2 separate regions of the Homo sapiens genome follow, and region 2 is linked to region 1. The links are contacts of gene promoters, found by promoter capture Hi-C in blood cells and fetal thymus (Javierre and others, 2016). All regions are on one chromosome and are shown on one strand. Each heading gives the region's core, a stretch centred on a gene start or on the middle of the fragment in contact. The rest is flanking DNA. Distances are from core to core; before and after follow the strand shown. Region 1 holds the start of CHCHD6 (coiled-coil-helix-coiled-coil-helix domain containing 6). Region 2 holds the start of TMCC1 (transmembrane and coiled-coil domain family 1).

Region 1 (3,113 bases), core at 99-2,598:
CCCTACGCAGGCTCTGCTTATAGGGAAGAAATGGACGACAGAGGTGATGGAGTGGGGTGCGCCAATGAAGTATTTTGAATGAAACTAGCAGACACCTTTGTTCCTAAAGATTCCATCGTCACACCAGCTCTGGGATGTTTACTAGCTTCTTCACCCTGAGCTATTCTCAATCTCAGAGCCTTACTGCTCTCTCTCAATCATTCTCTCCTCCTCACCCCTTTCTTTCCAGGTTGCCAATAGGAGCTCCAAATATTTTCTGGCTATTTCATGTAGCCATCTAGTTTTCCTCAGCTCGGCTTCAGGCGCACTTTTGCAAATCAAAGCCATTCAGCAACTCAGAGGAACAAAAAGGGGCTTATTTGAAGGTAGCAGTGTCTATGACTGGCAACCGTCTGTGTGCTCCCTTACACATAGGGTCCTGTGTAAGAAGCCTACACACAATGCCTGGCACACTGCACTCCACACATGGTATGTACACTCCTTGGGCAATGCCTCCTAACGGCTTAGGACCATTCCCTGTCCTCCCGGGGCGTTTAGAATAAAACCCACACTCAGACCCTGCCTCACAAGACCCGACATGATTTGGGTCCTCACCACTCCTCTGCCCTCTTCTCACTTTCCAGCCATGGGATGACCCCTCTTTCTCTTTTCCTGCCTGAGACTCCCAGGAAACCTCTTCCCCTACCTTTTTCTACATAAATCCTACTCTCCCGCCGGCTCAGTTCAAAGCTTCTTCCTCAGAGGTTGCTCTGGCCACTGAAATTAAAAGAGGCCTCCTTCTGTTCATTTTACTAGTGGCATCGCCATGCAGTTTTCCGTGTATTACAGTCAGTTTCCTTGCGTGCGTGTTTGGCTTTTCACTTGTTTTCCCCTTGCACTGTAAACCTCTCAAGGGCAGGACACTCGCTGTCTTGAGGGGCGCTGTAATGCCAGGGCCAGGTCCCTGCTCGTCTGGCGCTCAGCCCGTGCTGCTCTACACGTGTTTGCTGAATGAATGGAGCAGTGAACCCTCAGAAATTCGCCTCCAGATGAGCGCCTTGGCCGTCTCGGCGTCTCCTGGCCTCAGAACATCACCCTTGGCTCTCCCTCAAGGGGGAGCTCCCAAAGCGAGAACGTGACCCTGTCCTGCACCCAGCCCTCCACTCCAGGGCCTCCGCCGGTACACATCTTCGGCCTCAGCCTAACGCACTCTAGCAGGCACAGACCGCCACGCCCCCACCCCTCCAGACGGAAGGACTGCAATCCCCACAAGGCACCGCGACTCAGCGCCACCCGATTGGTGAAGCCTCTGGCGTCGGCCAATAGGACGTGGCTTTGTTGGCGTGTGCCGCGGCCGCGCGAGTCCTGGAAAGCGTTGTTGGCCCGGTTGCTCTGGAGCCGGGTCTCGGGTCTGGTGGCTGCCGGCCCTGCGGCATCTCGCCATGGGGAGCACGGAGAGCAGCGAGGGCCGCAGGGTGTCCTTCGGAGTGGACGAGGAGGAGCGGGTCCGGGTGCTGCAGGGTGTCCGGGTGAGCGGCGCCGCCTGGGCCGGGGCGGGCGTGGAGGCCGCGGGCGCGGGGGGGAGGTGCGGGGCGGAGCGCAGGGCCGGGGCTCTTTCCACGCGTGAGGGGCGTGGGGCTTGGGAGACTCCGGGGGCTCAGGCCAGGAAGAGGCTGAGCCGAGACGCGAGCCCGAGGCTGGCAGCCTTGGAGCTTCGCGACATGGGCTTCAGGGAAGGAGGAGTGAAGAACTGTACAGGTGCGAGGCCCCTGGGACACGAGGGACGCCCTGGCCACGTCCTGGCTCCGGTCGGCTTAGTTTTTACGTTTCTTGAATTTGCGCCCGGCCTCCCAGCCCGTGGCCCCTCAGGTGCGCGCATCTCGTTCTGGGTACGCGGTGTCTCCCACCTGGGCTTTGCCTGGGGACTCAGCTCTTCCCCGCCGGCCTGTTCTCCACAGCACATCTGCGGGGCGCAGGAAGAACCATAGCTCAGATCTGATCCCCTTCCTTGCCTGAAACCCTCCAGTGGGTTCCTAGCGCGCTTGGATGATGCCTTCCCTGGTTCCAAAGCTGGCCGCTGCCCGTCGACCTCTGGGGACTGCATCCCTCTGGGACTGCATCTCGTGCCATTTCCCTCGCGTGGCACCCGCACCTCGTCCCCAGCCTCAGGACCGCCGTGTTTTCCTGGAGGGTGCCGCTGGCTCAGCTCAGGGTCTGTGCGCCGGCTGTTCTCTCTCCTTCAGCTCTCCTTAAATCCCGCTGTTTCTTGTAATTCTTGTTGTAATTCAGATATCACCAGAGAATCCTTCCCTGACCACCCAATCTGAAGTAACCTCCCACCCCGCGTCCAACATTTATTATTTTCATAGCACTCATCACAGTGATCGCTTCTGTTGATAATTGTTTACTTGTTTATTGCGTTTACTGCTAGAGTGTAAGCTTTTTGAGGCTAAGGTTCCTGTCTGATTGAAGACTGTCCCCAGAACCCAGAAGAATAAAAGCAGCTCTTATTGCAGTGTAGGGGCCATGCGTTGGACTAAACCCTTTATAAGTTAACTGATTTAATTTTCAACAGCCCTATTTAGCCCATTATTGTAGATTAAGGAGAAGTGAGGCACTGAGAGGTGAACGAACTGATCCAAGATCATGTAAATAGTAAGTGGGAGAGCTGGGATTGAAACAAGCCAATTCCAGGGCATGTTGCTGTGCTCGGCCTCTTCCTCCACCTGTGTCTACACCTGCAGGTGCTTTGTAAGTAACTGTGGAGAGATGAATGAACCCAGTAAAAGGGACTAGGATTAAATGAAACGCACAGAGCTGGGTGTAGATGAATTAGTTAATTAAGGAGGAATTAGGGAGGTGGCTTAGAAAGACAGACTTCAGGAGTTCTGGCAGGTGCTCATTAGCTGTGTGACCTTGGGTAAAAAACTCTTTTGAGCCTCAATGGCCACATTAAAAAAAAAATTGGGTGTGTATGTATCCTAGGTACTGCCTAGGATAAGATGATGTCTGTGAAAGTGTTAAGGAAACGCACAGAGAGAGTGCTTTGTGGAGGCCTCTCTTCTTAGCCTAGCAGAGTACTTGGCACATTTGGTGCTTGCTAGGCGTTGTATAGTTTTGTGGACCTCACTCGT
Region 2 (2,961 bases), core at 48-2,547, 3.2 Mb after region 1:
TCACAATTTGAGTTTCAATCTCCTAATATACAGAGAAAAAAATGTATCTACCTCCTGGAACAAATCAAAGTTTTGTTTTATTTTAAAGCAGCTATCTGATATTTATGCCCTGGATTTTTTTTTTTTAAGAACAGAATAAGCTAATTTAGGAATTCACACCTTTCGTAGAGATGCTTATGGTACAGGTACCTCTGACGGCTAGGCTCTACCAACACTAACGTGTAACGTGTCACAAAAGCCAACGGGCGTTGCGGGGGCCGGGGGTAGCCAACAGCTCAAGTGGGCTGCTTCACTCCGTGGCAGATTCACCTGGGGATTCCTCACCAAGAATGTTGTTAAGGGACGAACCAAACCAACCACAAATGATACCCCTTTACCGAGGCTGAAAAAGCAGAGATTCGCAAGCTATAAACGAATCTCTGGCCCTTTAGGGAAGGTGCAACTCGCTGCACCTCTTTCCCCTATCCTACAGGGGTTAACAGGGGGCATCCTGAGGCCGAGACCAAGCCCAGCCAGCTCCTCCTCACATCCCACCTCCCACTACATATTCTCCCCAGTACGCCGGGCTCCCTCCTCCCCTCGAAAGACAGTTCAAAATCAAAACAATAGGTGCAAAACTGGTTTCAGGTGGAAATGGCTGAGTCCTGGTGGCTAACTTCTGGGACGCCATGGCGATCGAGGGCTCCTAAAACCCCAGATTCCGACGGGAACCGGCTCCTAAACAGTCCCTCGGGCCTCGGCCCGACTTCTCACACGCCCCTCCCTCACCTCGGCCCTGGGATGCTGGGAAGGGAACGAGGCGAGGGGCTGGAGGGGAACCCCAGGTCAAAATGACAGCGGAATGAGCCGGGAAAGGAAAGAGGCCCCGTGGGATGCTGGGGGTCGAGTCCTAGGCCCGGGGCTTCAACCTCGAACGGGGGCGACGGCAGGTCCCAGCCCCGACAGGCCGCGAGCGGGAGGCCAGGCCCGCGTCCGCTGCGCCGCCAGGCCACGCTCCCTCACGACTGTCCCCACCCACCGCGGAGGGCCGTGAGGGGGCCGCGACCGCCGCCAGCGTCCGGGGCGGGGGCGCTCACTCACCGGCGGGGAGGGGAGGAGCAGCCGGCGTCTCCGCCAGCGCCGTCGCTCGAGCTCAAGCGCCTGCTCCTTCCACTGCGGCCGCCGCACCCGGTCCATCCCCCACAACCACCCCCCCCTCCCGACCCTCCCCCCGCGCCGCCTCAGCCGCCGCCGCCTCAGTCACCGCCACCGCCGCCGCCGCCTCAGCCCCGGCGCGGGAGGGCGAACCGGCGCGAGAGAGCGAGCGCGCGCGCGCCCCCGCCACAGCCGCCACCGCCCACAACCTCCGCCCCCGGCCGGCGGCGCACGCGCAAGGGAGCGGGCGGACGGGCGCGCGCACGCCGCAGGGGCGGGGATGGGCCCTGGAAGGCGTGGCCCCTCCCCTAGCCCGCCTTCCCACGCGGTCTCTGGGCTGGTTGAGCTGCGCCGCTGCAGGTAGTGCTGAGTTGCTCCAGGTAAGCTCCTCCTCTCAAAAAGCTCTAGGAACCGAGCCACCCTCGCCCTAGGAGCAACGCCCCTGAGTAATATGGGGTTTCGTCGGATTTCTGCCCGCCGCTCTGGATCACACGTTTGTTCTCCCTATTTGAGTCGCAAGGCCTTCCTTCATTCCACCTAGCAGGCTGCTTGGAAAAGGGCAGAGACTCATTACTTTGCACCAGGTATTACCACTGAAGGGATTGTAAGCAGCCACCAGCCCATCCCTTTATAATTCCCATTTTCCTAATTTATTTTATTTTTATTACTTATGTAATGAGGCTTCTTCCGTGTTCAAGGAGCTGGGAGTACCATATGGGGTCAACGGAGTCCCTGGTCTCATGAAGTTTGAGATCTGGTGGAGAAGGAAAACATTCATGGGAGAATCAGACAAAATTAAGTTTTCAATTAGTAAAAATCTTCTGAGAGGTATATGGTACTAAGAGAATCTTTATGGGGGAATTGATTTAGTTGAGGATGAAGAGGGTAGAATCTGAGGAATTGAGTTGGGAGGAGTTAGTTGCTCCAAGGGGTGAGGTCTTGGCATGGCCAGAATGGGGAGCGCTAAAGAATATTGAATGTGGAGTAGACTGCGAGTGTGGGAAGAGGTAGGCGAGAACAGGTGAGGATTGGGGACCTATTTATTTATTTATTTATTGAGACAGAGTCTCACTCTGTCACCCAGGTCACCCAGGCTGGAGTGCAATGGCTCGATCTCAGCTCACTGCAACCTCCGCCTCCTGGGTTCAAGCGATTCTCCTGTCTCAGCCTCCGGAGTAGCTGGACTACCAGCGCACGCCAGCGCACCTGGCTAATTTTTGTATTTTTAGTAGAGATGGGGTTTCGCCATCTTGGCCAGGCTGGTCTGGAACTCCTGACCTTGTGATCTGCCCGCCTCGGCCTCCCAAAGTGCTGGGATTGCAGGCATGAGCCACCACACCCGGCCGGATTTGGGACTTTAATCTGAGTGCTTGGTAGAAGCTATTCAGGTTTTTTTCAGCAGGGTTGCAGGGGAAATAACTTGATCATTATGTCTGTTTTTTGTTTTTGAGAGGCAGACTGGAGTGCAGTGGCGCGATCTCGGCTCCCTGCAATCTCTGCCTCCCGGGTTCAAGTGATTTTCCTGCCTCAGCCTCCCTAGTACCTGGGACTACAGGTGCACGCCACTGCACCCAGCTAATTTTTTTAGTATTTTTAGTAGAAACGGGGTTTCACCATGTTGGCCAGGATGGTCTGAATCTCCTGACTTCATGATCCACCCACCTCGGCCTCCCAAAGTGCTGGGATTACAGGTGTGAGCCACCTTGCCCCCAGCCCATTATGTCTGTTTTTAAGTTACTTAGATAGCAACGTGAAGAGTGGTCTGATGGGAGTCTCAAAGCTGGGGCCGGGAAGCCAGTTAGGAGGCCACTGGCCACATAGTCAAGG

The links. Contacts are between HindIII fragments. The CHiCAGO score rates a contact against its expected background, and 5 or more counts as called.
Region 2: a contact is called between the fragment with the promoter of TMCC1 here and the fragment with the promoter of CHCHD6 in region 1, in 2 of 17 cell types (non-activated CD4 T cells and naive CD4 T cells). The highest score is 7.4, in non-activated CD4 T cells.

The regions. Positions count from the first base shown.
Region 1 is chr3:126,702,892-126,706,004 of GRCh38, forward strand. CHCHD6 (coiled-coil-helix-coiled-coil-helix domain containing 6) reads left to right here and starts at 1,349. Exons shown (of 8, transcript NM_032343.3): 1 at 1,349-1,508. The coding sequence starts at 1,422. RefSeq lists enhancers at 929-988, 2,049-2,600 and a silencer at 1,539-1,738. The HindIII fragment of the contact is 1,689 bases long and covers 728-2,416 here.
Region 2 is chr3:129,892,414-129,895,374 of GRCh38, forward strand. TMCC1 (transmembrane and coiled-coil domain family 1) reads right to left here and starts at 1,298. Exons shown (of 7, transcript NM_001017395.5): 1 at 1,081-1,298. It overlaps TMCC1-DT (TMCC1 divergent transcript), which reads left to right and starts at 1,458. Exons shown (of 3, transcript NR_037893.1): 1 at 1,458-1,514. RefSeq lists enhancers at 1-672, 673-1,464 and a silencer at 826-1,555. The HindIII fragment of the contact is 6,422 bases long and covers 1-2,961 here.